Linked DNA regions of Homo sapiens: all the other regions are linked to region 3. Evidence: promoter capture Hi-C in human tissues and cell types (Jung and others, 2019). All regions are on one chromosome and are shown on one strand. Each heading gives the region's core, a stretch centred on a gene start or on the middle of the fragment in contact. The rest is flanking DNA. Distances are from core to core; before and after follow the strand shown. Region 1 overlaps TXNDC16 (thioredoxin domain containing 16). Region 2 overlaps TXNDC16 (thioredoxin domain containing 16). Region 3 holds the start of PTGDR (prostaglandin D2 receptor).

Region 1 (3,978 bases), core at 1,051-3,550, 230 kb before region 3:
ATTGTTAATCAAAGTCTGGAGTAGGTTTTGCTTCAACACTTTCACAGAATAATGCATAAGCGTTTTATTTGTTTGAACTTTTTTTTCCTAGACAACTAGGGAACTTGGATATAGGATTCAGGCAGAGGCTCCAGAAGCCCCGGTAGACACTGAAATAGGTAGGAATGACCAGTAGCATAAAACCAAGAAAGATCTGAAAGGCTGAATTGAAGATCAGAGCCAAATTGGAAAGCTAAGCTGAGAATTCAAACCTTGATGTCAGCCTAGGAATACTTGGCAGAGTGAGGCCTAGAAGCACAGATTCGTGGACTTTCATAGACCAGAACAGAGAAAATGAATGCAGAGTACAGAAAAGGAGACAAAGCCTCGAAAGATTCCTTGAGACTATTGGCGGGTGGCTAAGGCTTACCCCGGTGGAATTAGGAAGATGTTAGAATCCTCAGCTGGTTTGGTCACTTTTATGTTTTATTTCTTTAAACATTTGACCATATCAGTATTTGAGGTTGTTTTTTGTTCTTAAATAATACATTTGAGGTTAAAAAAACTGAGTCACGCCAAACACTTTTATAGGAAACACCTCTTAGACCAAAATTTGTTCTAACGGGTTATACCCTTTGATGGTATAGTTAACTGGAATGAGATAGAGAGGTCCCAAAAGGTGGTACCTAAATTTGTTGACTTCTTACAGGTTCTTATTAGTAGCCGACTTCATAGGACTTTGAATTCATGTTTCTTGCTTTATTCTTATTCTCTCATAGTACTACTGAAGCTCATTCCCCCTGTTATCTTAGACATTATTCTATATACAAGCCCTTGGGGTTTAATCATGGTTGGGTTTTGTGTGTTTGGTAAGATGCTTTGCAAATTAGCCTGGGTTTCTGGGTTCAGGATCTGAAATAATTTGGTATGTTTACAAAGTCTTTTTATAAACTAATAAAAATGGAAAGTAGGATTCAGGCTTTTTTGTAAACGGCATTGTGTCTGATCATTGCAATTATATGTATTATTAGTTCACTTCTAAGCATATGAAAATAGATGCAGATTGCTTTTGTATGTGTGTTTATTGCTTTTTTTTTCTTTTAGGTAAACAGGGTACTTGGACACCTAATTGTAGATATATAACACAACTATGTCTTATACTCACGATGGGAGGTGTGTCATTTTGATCATGTCAAACTGAAAATAAATCTTGAGTATAGAATTTTTAAGTGAATTTCAATCTTAAATAGGTTAAGTAAGATTCTGCCAGATATGGAGTTGTTTTAGATGTATTATTAAGGTTCCCAACAGTGAACACAGATGGGAAAATGGTTCAATTATTGTCCTGTTGGCAAATACCAAGGACATTTTAGAATGCTGATGATTTTCTCCATGATGGATTCAGTTTATATTTGTAGATAGAAGGAAAGCTTTTATCTGAATCCCAATTGAGAATCTGAATTCTCAAGTGCAAATATCTAATAAAATGTTAAAAGATGGGTAAGTTTATACATTTTTAATAATTTCTGAAATTTTTACATTATTTTTTGTTTGTTCATCTAGCTGTCTGTCTCAGATTCAAGACACTTGAATTAAGTTAAACCTACTCTTTTATATAGGAAATTAGAAAGATGCTGTTATGATTTATTCATTTAGCTCCTATTTCTAGAGAACTTATGTGGCAGTGTGCAATATTGTGCAGCATAGTGTTTCCTAACATGGTTATTTTAGAGACTTTTTTTCCATTGTTGTAAAAACCGTGTAAGATTACCCTCATCACAATTTGAAAGTGTATAATACAGTATTAGCTGATGTACGTTGTTGTACAGCAGGTCTCTGGAACTTTGTCATATTGCACGACTGAAACTCTATACTCATTGAACACACAACTTCACATCTCCCCTCTACCTGACCGCAGTCCTTGACACCACCAGTCTACTTTCCATTCGTATGAGTTTGATTACTGTAGATACCACATATACACTGAGTTATGCCATATTTGTTTTTGCAGTTGGCTTATTTCACTTAGAATAATGTCCTCAAGGTTCATCCATGTTGTAGTGTATGTCAGGATTTTATTCTTTTTTAAGGCTGAATAATATTCCGTTGGACGTATATACCGCATTTTATTTATCCATTCATCCATTGATAGACGTTTAGGTTGCTTCCACCTCTTGGCTATGGTGAGTAATGCTGCAATGGACATGGGTATTCTCTGAGATCTTTTTTCTCATTCTTTTGAAAATATACCCAGAAGTGGGATTGCTGGATCATATGGTAGTTTCATTTTTAATTTTTGAAGAACCTCCATATACTCAGCCCTCTGTATCTGTGGATTCTGCATCCTTGGATTAAACCAACTGCAGATGAAAAATAATTAAAACCCAATAAAAATAAAAATATAACAATAAAAATAATACAAAATTAAATTATGGTATAACAACTATTTACATAGTATTTACATTGTATTTGATATTATAAATAATCTAGAGATGATTTTAAGGTATACAAGATGGAGCGTGTAGGTATATGCAAATACTATGACTTTTATATAAAGAACTTGAACATTTATGGATTTTGGTATATTTAAGGGGTGTAGAGAAACTGATTCCTTATGGATACTGAGGGATGACTGTACTGTTTTCATAGTGCCTGCACCATTTTACAGTCTCACCAACAGTGCACAAGGGTTCATTTCTTCATATCTTCACCAACGTTTGTCATTCTTTTCTTTCTTTTCTTTTTTTTTTTTTGATAGTGGCCATTTTAAAGGATATGAGATGATACCTCATGGTGGTTTCGAGTTTTATTTTCCCGATGATTAGTGATGTTGAGTATCGTCTCATATGCTTGGCCATTTGTGTATCTTCTTTGGAAAAATGTCTATTCAAGTCTTTTGTCCATTTAAAAAATTGAGTTATTTGTTTTGTTATTGAATTATGGGGGTTCTCTGTATGTTCTGTATGTTAACTCTTTATCTCATATATGTTTTGCAGACATTTTCTCTCATTCAGTTGTCTTTTTACTCTATTAGAAGTTTTAGTTTGTCTATTTTTGCTTTTGTTGTTTGTGCTTTTGTTGTCATATCCAAGAAATTGTTGCCCATTTCAATGTCATGAAACTTTTCCCCCTATGTTTTCTTTTAGGAGTTTTACTTTCAGGTCTTATGTTTAGGTATTTAATCCATTATGAGTTAACTTTTGTATATGCTGTGAGATAAGGGTCCATTTTCATTCTTTTGCATGTGGATATCCAGTTTTCCCAGCACCATCTATTGAAGAGACTGTCCTTTCTTTACTGAGTGGTTTTGACATCCTTGTCAAAGATCATTTGAACATATACATGAAGGTTTATTTGTGGGCTCTCTATTTTGTTCCATTGGTCTATGTGTCTGTTTTTATGCCAGTACTAGGCTATTTTGATTACTGTAGCTTTGTAATATATTTTGAAATCAGAAAGTGTGAGGCCTCTAGCTTTGTACTTCTTTCTCAAGATTGTCTGGGCTATCTGAAATCCCTTGAGATTCCATATGAATTTTAGGATTTTTTTTCTATTTCTGCAAAAAATACCATTGGGATTTTAATAGGGATTGCATTGAATCTGTAGATTGCTTTGGGTAGTATAGACATTTTAATAATATTATTAAGTCTTCTAATCCATGAACACAGAATGTCTTTCCATTTATTTATGTCTTTTAAATTTTCTCTCAGCAATGTTTTGTAGTTTTCAGTATAAGGGTCTTTTACCTCCTTTGTTCAATTTATTCCAAAGTATTTTATTCTTTTTCAATGCTATTGTAAATGGGATTATTTTCTTAATTTTATTTTTGGATTGCTCATTATTAGTGTATAGAAATGCAACTGATTTTTGTATGCTGATTTTGTATCCTGCAAAATGGTTCTTATGGTTTTCTGGTGTGTGTGAGTGTGTGTGTGTGTGTGTGTGTGTGTGTGTGTGATCTTTAGGGTTTTGCACATATAAGATCCTATTACCTGTGAA
Region 2 (4,104 bases), core at 839-3,338, 200 kb before region 3:
GACAGTAATTAGATATATTAAAAATTCAGGTGGTAAAATTGAAAGAACATGCTGATTAATCAATAGGCATGAAGGGCCTTGGGAATGGAGAGGTATGAAAGATGATGCTTTGTTTTTTGAGTTGCACAAGAGCAGCAACGTTCACCAACAAACAGAAAAGAAACCATATATGGTTTTAGACTTGTTGAGTTTGAGGAGGTTTCCGTTCAAAGGAAAACAGAGAAGGTAGTAAGGATATATGGGTCTGGAACTTCAAGGAGTTTGGGCCAAAGACATAAATTTAGGATTCATTAGATTGTCTATGGTTATTGAGGTTGTGTAGGACAGGAGTGAAGAAAAACAAGAGAAGGCAGCTTAAGCTGAGCCTTGAGGGACCTCCAACTCTACTGGCTGAAGAGCCTGCAAAAGGGAACAAAAAGGAGAAGCTAGAAAGGAAGGGAAAAGGCCAACAGGGAATGGTGTTGCAAAGATCAAGGGAAGAGAGTGTTTAAGCAGGAGTGTTTCATGCTGAGAGGTTAAAATAAGAATGGGATAGAAAAATACTGAAGATCCTAAGCAAATGCATTTTCTACAATTAGTAATTACAAATGTGCATTTTCCTTTTATTTAGGCACATCTACTATGCTTCTTACTAGAATAAACTGTGCAGATTGGTCTGATGTATGTACTAAGCAAAATGTTACTGAATTTCCTATCATAAAGATGTACAAGAAAGGCGAGAACCCAGTATCTTATGCTGGAATGTTAGGAACCGAAGATCTCCTAAAATTTATCCAGCTGTAAGTATTCAGCTTCATTATAAGATCTCTGAATGTTTAGGTCTTTAGAAGTTCTAATTCTCAGACTTTGCTAACACTTAAAATAGGTTAAGGAAGATACTAGAATTGAGATCACAAAATGAATATTTATGAAAGTCTGTGTACATTTCAACACTTTTCGGGAGATAGCAATTTTGTTTAATGAGTCTGATTTTCTTTAAGAATAATATTTAATTTTCTATATTTTGTAAGATATTATCCTATGTAATATATTGTTTGCTATGTTTAGTATGCTTTTTTTTTACAAACTGAAAATATCTTAAAAAATTAATTTGTAATATAGTTATATGTTTATCCAGCAACAGGATTTCATATCCAGTGAATATAACATCGATCCAAGAAGCAGAAGAATATTTAAGTGGGGAATTATATAAAGACCTCATCTTGTATTCTAGTGTGTCAGTATTGGGACTATTTAGTCCAACCATGAAAACAGGTAAGCAGAGCTGAGCTTTTAAATTATACAGTAGAGTATATCATTGCTTGCTAGTTTTATTTTTTAAGAATATCTTTTTAAATTATAGAGAATTTCAAAATTATGGAGAAGTTTGAAGAAAAATAAAATATCGTAAGCTAATTATTCAGAGATAGTGTTAAATTTTGATGTAATTTCTTCCATCTTTTTTCTGTGTACCTACAGATTGCATATTTATGTATGTTTTAACATAATTGGGCTAAAACTGTGTATCTAGGTTAGAATCTTGCGTTTTTTTTGTTTGTTTTGTTTTTTTGAGACAGAGTCTCGCTCTGTCACCAAGCTGGAGTGCAGTGGCGTGATGTCGGCTCACTGCAACCTCTGCCTCCTGGGTTCAAGTGATTCTCCTGCCTCAGCCTCCTGAGTAGCTGGGACTACAGGCACATGCCACCATGCCCAGCTAATTTTTGTGTGTTTAGTAGAGACGGGGTTTCACCATGTTGGCCAGGATGGTCTCCATCTCTTGACCTCATGATCCGCCTGCCTTGGCCTCCCAAAGTGCTGGGGTGAGCCACCGCACCTAGCCAGAATCTTGTTTTTATTTAACATTACAATGATGTATTGATATTCTTCATGAACATTATGGCTACATAATATTTGGTGAATATATATATCAAAATGTATTTAAATTTGTTTTTTGTTTTTTTTTTTGAGACGAGATCTTGCTCTGTCACCTAGGCTGGAGTGCAATGGCATGATCTCGGCTCACTGCAATCTCTGCTTCCTGGGCTCAAGCAATCCTCCCATCTCAACCTCCTGAGTAACTGGGACCACAGACATGTGCCACCATGCCCAGCTAATTTTTTGTGTTTTTGTAGAGACAGGATTTCACCATGTTGCCCAGGCTGGTCTTGAACTTCTGAGCTCAAGTGATCCACCCATCTTGGCCTGCCGAAGTGTTGGGATTACAGATGTGAGCCACCACACCTGGCCTTATTTAACTATTTATGAACAATATTTGTACTGTTTCCTTTTTTTTTCCTTCTGTATGTGAAGAATATTTTTGAGTCTTTGTATGGATTTTAGACCATATAATGAGTTTAGGTTCCCAATAGAATAACGTATGTCTTCTATAAATTGTAGGTTATATACATTACTCATGGTTTTTTGTTTTTTTTTTTGAGACAGGGTCTCGCCCTATTGCCCAGGTTGGAGTACAGTGACACAATCACAGCTCACTGCACACTCAACCTCCTGGGCTTAAGTGAGCCTCCCACCTCAGCCTCCTGAGTAGCTAGGATTATAGACATGTGCCACCATGCCCACTAATTTTTTAATTTTTCATAGAGATGAGGTCTCCCTGTGTTGCCCAGGCTGGTCTCAAACTCCTGGGCTCAAGCAGTTTTCCTGCCCTGGCCTCCCAAAGTGCTGGTAGTATAGGCATGAGCCACTGTACTTGCCCACTCACTTTTTAAAATGGAGTTTTACTGTTTGTCTAATGAATTGGTGTGAGACCTTTGTATATTAAGGATATTAAGCTTTTGTCATTTTGTTTCAGTTATTTTCCCTCAGTCTGTTATTTGCTCTTTAGCTTTGTTTAATGATAATTTTGTATATCACAGTTTAAAATTTTTTTAATCTATTGATTTTAAGATTTCTTCTATTGCTTTTAGCTATAAAAAACCCTATCATTTTTGTCACCTAATATTCACCTGTATTTTTTCTTGCTTTAATTTACAATATTTTCCTATTTTAATTTGTCTTGCTTTGTATATTTTTTCTTTTAAAAAAATTTTGATAACATACACATAACGTAAAATTTACCATCTTACCCATTTTTAAGTGTATGTTTTACAAGTATTAAGTATATTCACATTGTTGTACAACTAATCTCCAGAACATTTTCATCTTGCAAAACTGAAACTCTGTACTCATTAAACAACAGCTTTTCATTTCATCCTCCTCCCAGGCCCTGGTAACCACCACTCTACTTTCTGTTTATATGAGTCTGGCTACTCTATGTACCTCATACAGGTGGAATCATACAGTATTTATCTTTTTCTGACTGACTTATTTCACTTAGCATAATGTCTTCAGGGTTCATCTATATTGTAGTGTGTGTCAGAATTTCCTTCCAATTTAGGCCGAATAGTATTCCATTGTATGTATATATCTTATTTTGTTTATCTGTTTATCCATTAATGAATTTTTGGGTTACTTCTACCTCTTGGCTGTTGTGAATAACGCGGTTGTGAACATGGGTATGGAAATATCTCTCTGGTACTCTGCTTTCAATTATTTTGAGTACATACTGAGAAGTGGAATTGCTGGGTCATATGGTAATTCTGTTTTTAGTTTTTGAGGAACCGCAGTACTATTTTCCGCCCTGGCTGCATCATTTTACATTCCTACCAACAGTGTACAGGGGTTCCAATGACTTTAACATCCTTGCCAATATTCGTTATTTTATTTTATTTTTTATGATAGCCATCTTAATGGGTGTGAGGTGATATCTTGTTGTGGCTTTGATTTGCATTTCCCAGACGATTAGTGATGCTGAGCATCTTTTCATTATGCTTCTTGGTCATTTGTATATATTCTTTGGAGAAATGTCTGTAACTCCTTTGCCTGTTTTTAAATTGGGTTATTTATATTTTTGTTGCAGAAATTCTTTATATATTCTGGATATTATCCTTTATCAAAGATTTGATTTGTAAATATTTTCTCTCATTCCATAGATTGCTTTTTTACTCTGTTGATTGTGATTTTTTTCCCTTTTTTAAAAGTTTTTAACCCTTTAGATATTTTAGTGCATGGGATGAGTGTTGGTGCCAACTTAATTTTTTTTCTAATAGTTAACGTTTATCCTTT
Region 3 (4,126 bases), core at 1,375-3,874:
CCCGCCTCGGCCTCCCAAAGTGCTGTGATTACAGGCGTGAGTCACCGCTCCCGGCTGAGTACAATTTTTTTGTAATATGTATCTACTAAGGAGAAGAATAAAACGTTTTCTTGGAACAGTATTTTTCTTGAAATAGTATTTGGCTCAATTGAAGCTCAAAACTCTTGGGTCTCATCAAATTGATTGCAGAGATTCATTTGTAAGAATTATTCTTAACTCCAGGGAGATGTAAAACAGTGGCCAGGAAAGATTTGGCCTGTGAGCTGTGGTTTGCTAACTCCTGTTTTAGAGTGTGATTCTACAAATGTGAACCCTGAATCTGAGCTTGCATATCACCTGGGAACTTGTTAAGAATGAAAATTCTTTAAAAATGTCTGAATTAGAAACTCTGGGGAATGGGGTCCAGCCATCTTTTTTTCTAGAAGCCTTGCTGGTGATTCTGAGCTGGTGATTCTGAAGACCACTGCTATATGTCATCTGCGCCTATATCTACATTTAGATAGATATAGATTTATGTATTTGTTTATTTATTTTGGGGGCATACTGTTCCCACCCCTGCATGCTGATGCCCCAGACTTCTTTTTCCGCAAGCAGTAAGGCCTTCATTTAAAGGAAAATCGCTTTGTATTTCCCTTTCATTCACCATTGAAAGTAATATCCAAAATGGCTACATTCTGAGAAGAAATTTAACAACTTTCCTATTCACAGAAGTCTCAGGATTTCGAGAACGTGGGATTGGCAATGGAATTTCTGTAAGTATTGTTTTTGTTGAACAGGTACCTTGGGAGAAAGGAGAGGAGCAGCACTGAAAATGTTTCCTCAAGCCTCACCTACTCCCAGGTGTCTTGGCGGGGACTCCAGGAACAAATGCCTTCAAAATGAGGAGATAATTTCATTTCCATCGCTATCCTCATTACCAAATTGAAACCGGAGATAATGGCTTTCATGTCACCTCACTTGCCAAGATACACTCAAAACCCGTCAAGTCAGGTTGTCAAAACGACACCAGCAGCTAAAACATACAAAGAGCCTCGGCCTCCATCGCCACAATCCCTGGCGGATGCAGCACCAGAAACAGCAGCCGTGGCGTCTCAAAGTTTACGCACGCGTTTTTCAAAATTAAAACTATGCATCTGCAAATCACTCTGGCTGGCTTAAACCTCTTTTTCCCTTTCTATGCCAACACCGGGGAGAAGATCGTCCCAGACGCCATTCGCCCATTTCTGATACCACTGAAGTCATGAGCAGGTCTAACAAAATAAAACATCACCCAGCCGTCGGGAAGTAGAAGACTCCTGTTGCCAAGGAGAAACTAAGTTCTGCTCCTCCTAAGGCGCAAAAATGACCTCGAGATCTCCCCAGAAGGAAGCAGAGAGGAGGGAGTTCTGCCACATGGAGAGGGTTTTGCTGGGCTAGGGAGACACCGCCGGGCTCAGCCTTTCCCTTCCTTTCTCTAACTTTCCCTCATTTCGCTCCGCAAACTGAGTTATATCTCGGGGCTGTGGAAGGAATCCAATTTGGGGAACTCAGCAGCAAACCTTCCTGGCCCAGGGCGCAGCTCGCCTGGCGCCGCGTCCATCCCGATCCGCTCCACCCTTCCCGCCCCGCATCCGCGGCCGGACAGTCTCAGTGCCCTGCTGCCTCGGGGCCCGGGGACTCACAATTACGGGCAGAGAACACATAGTGAAGAGCACGGTCATCAGCGCCAGCAGCAGGAGGTGATCCAGCTCCTCCAGGGGCTGAGGGGACGCTTCCCTCCCGTCCGCGCGCGGCTCGGCACAGTCCCTGGTGCAGGAGCGCGGGTGCCGCTGCAGCCGCCGGTGCATCGCATAGAGGTTGCGCATGGCGCCGAGGTTGCACAGCACGGTGGCGAGGACCAGCAGCGCCATGAGGCTGGAGTAGAGCACAGAGTACCCCAGCACCGACAGCGAGCCCTCCTCGTGGACCATCTGGATAAAGCACCAGGTGCCGGGGCAGTACTGCACGAACTTCCCGAAGCCCATGAAAGGTAGCGCGCAGAAAGCCAGGGAGAAGGCGCTCACCACCGGGGCCACCAGTGCGCCCAGGCGCAGGGTGATGTGCCGTCGGTAGAAGAAAGGGTGCCCTAGGGAGAGCCAGCACTCCAGTGCCATGGCCAGGAGTTGCAGTGTCGAGGAGAGCCCAAAGAAGGACATGAAGAAGGCGAAGGCTTGGCACAACGAGTTGTCCAATGCGGGCGCAAGCACCCGCAGACTCCGGTTCTGAGCGTAGGCAGCCAGCACCACCGGGCTTAGGAGGCACTTGCCCAGCAAGTCGGTGACCGTCAGGCCACACACCAGCATGTAGAAGACCGAGGGCAGCGGGCGCAGTGGACGCCGCGAGCACCACCCCAGCCCCGAGCGCGCCAGCAGCCCCAGGGCCAGCAGGTTGCCCAGGAGGCCGGTGCTGAAGAGCACCCCGCCCATCACCGCCGAGTTGCCTTTTTCCACAGAGGTGGTGTTCTGGCAGCGGTAGAACGGCGACTTCATGGCGTGCGGGAGCAGAGGGCTGGAGTGAAGGCTGCGGAAGGGCGAGGGCCCCGGCGCCCGGGTGCTAAGGAGCCCCCGGCAGCTCCGCGCGCGGCTCGGGCGGAGAAGCTGCGCCACAGAAAAAGCTCCGAGGGCGGCGGGGTGTTCCCCACGGCAGGAACCTCCTATCTAAACTCGCGGGTCACACCCCTCTTTGAGAGGCGGGACGCTCTGCAGGGTGAGCGCCTGGCGCTGGCATTGAAGAGCGCGGAGCAGGCCAGTGAAGAGCTCGGCCCTGACGCGCTGCGTTCTCAGTAGAGACAGACTCTGGTGCCGAGTCGGAACGGCAGGAGGAAAATAGCCAGAATTCCAAGCACCCAACACCAGTCCTTCTAGCGAGGCAAGAGAAGAACTACTAAAGTGGAGGGGAAATTAAGCAGCAGCCACCTGAGAGGAGGGCAATGGTGCTGGTGTTTGAACTGGGGTGGCCAAGAACTCGAAAGATGAGCGAAGAGGGGAGGCTGAGAAAGGGCTTCTACCTAGTTGTCTTGAATTAGCTAGTCAAGGAAAGGTAAAGATAACTCACGTCTGGAAAGCCCCTGAGCCTTAGCTCCTCTTCTCTACTAGATCAGCGCAATTTGGGGCATTCACGGTCATCTCCATTGCATAGGCGAGGAAACTGAGGCCTTGGAAAGTTAAGTGATCTGCCCGTGGTGACAGAGCTACAGAAGTAGCAGAGCCGGACCTCTCACCCGATCTTCTATTTTGGAGTTCATCTGTCCTGTTCCCATGACTCCTCCTCCCAAGAAGTTGTCCAGATTTCAGGGAAGTGGTTTGTGGGAAAGCCAAGAGCCGGTGTTGGTCCTGGGTGCCATGAATCACATTGACTGTAGAGAGCTGGGGGGAAGGGCATGGTTAGCAGCACTGTTGCTGTCATCAGATAGGCCTGGGTTTGAGTCCAGGTTCTGCTCCTCACTGTGTGTGTGACCTTATGGGACTTGCTTAGCCTCTCAAGCAGTAACATCTATCTGGCCTGCTTGGCTCTTCTGAGGCATAGAAATAACACGTAAAGAGCAAGTACATAGAAAGTGCTCAATTCATGCAATCACCATGATTCTTATTTGATAGAAGGGTGTTTTGGTAGCTGATGTTTAACTGCAGTTTTTAGCATGGATTTTGAAATCAGAAAATGGTAGATTTGGCATAGAGCTTTCTCACTCCTCTGATTTGTGGCTACTAGAAAAAATTTATTCCTGTTTGGGCTTTGACTTGGCTGCATCATAAAGGCAAGGGAGTTAATTGTGATAAGCGTGATTTTATATCTTTAACTAGCATTCGATGCCCTGTGAGAGAAATTGGCTTTGAGTGTGGAATCTCAGTGGGATGACTAAGGTTTTGTTATGTAAGTGAGTAGATGATGCCTGGGCTTGAAACGGCTCATTTTTAGGCCTCATGCCAGTTCTGATGGACAGACTCAGGGAAAGAGCAAGACCCTTGGGATTTAGATGTGAAAGCCTGAAGGGTAGACAGAGAGGCTGCCTCCAGACTGAAAGTCTGGCCAGTAATTCAGGCCACAGGGTGGAAAAGAAGAATCTAAGCTTGGAATTAGATAGTTCTGAACTCCACCACTGGCTGTGTGA

Evidence for each region. The method cuts DNA at HindIII sites, captures the fragments that hold promoters and counts their contacts. A contact is called where the count stands out against the background at its distance.
Region 1: a fragment that was not itself captured here is called in contact with the fragment with the promoter of PTGDR in region 3 in 1 of the 25 tissues and cell types used here (mesenchymal stem cells).
Region 2: a fragment that was not itself captured here is called in contact with the fragment with the promoter of PTGDR in region 3 in 3 of the 25 tissues and cell types used here (IMR-90 fibroblasts, lymphoblastoid cells and mesendoderm cells).

What each region holds. Positions count from the first base shown.
Region 1 is chr14:52,498,364-52,502,341 of GRCh38, reverse strand. All of the region lies in intron 9 of TXNDC16 (thioredoxin domain containing 16), which reads left to right. Among named protein-coding and RNA genes, the nearest start is that of TXNDC16, 52 kb to the left of the region's middle. The HindIII fragment of the contact is 3,404 bases long and covers 599-3,978 here.
Region 2 is chr14:52,467,187-52,471,290 of GRCh38, reverse strand. TXNDC16 (thioredoxin domain containing 16) reads left to right here. Exons shown (of 21, transcript NM_020784.3): 15 at 611-779; 16 at 1,118-1,254. Among named protein-coding and RNA genes, the nearest start is that of TXNDC16, 83 kb to the left of the region's middle. The HindIII fragment of the contact is 7,192 bases long and covers 1-4,104 here.
Region 3 is chr14:52,266,196-52,270,321 of GRCh38, reverse strand. It overlaps PTGDR (prostaglandin D2 receptor), which reads right to left and starts at 2,624. Exons shown (of 2, transcript NM_000953.3): 1 at 1,662-2,624. The coding sequence starts at 2,507. The HindIII fragment of the contact is 10,952 bases long and covers 1-4,126 here.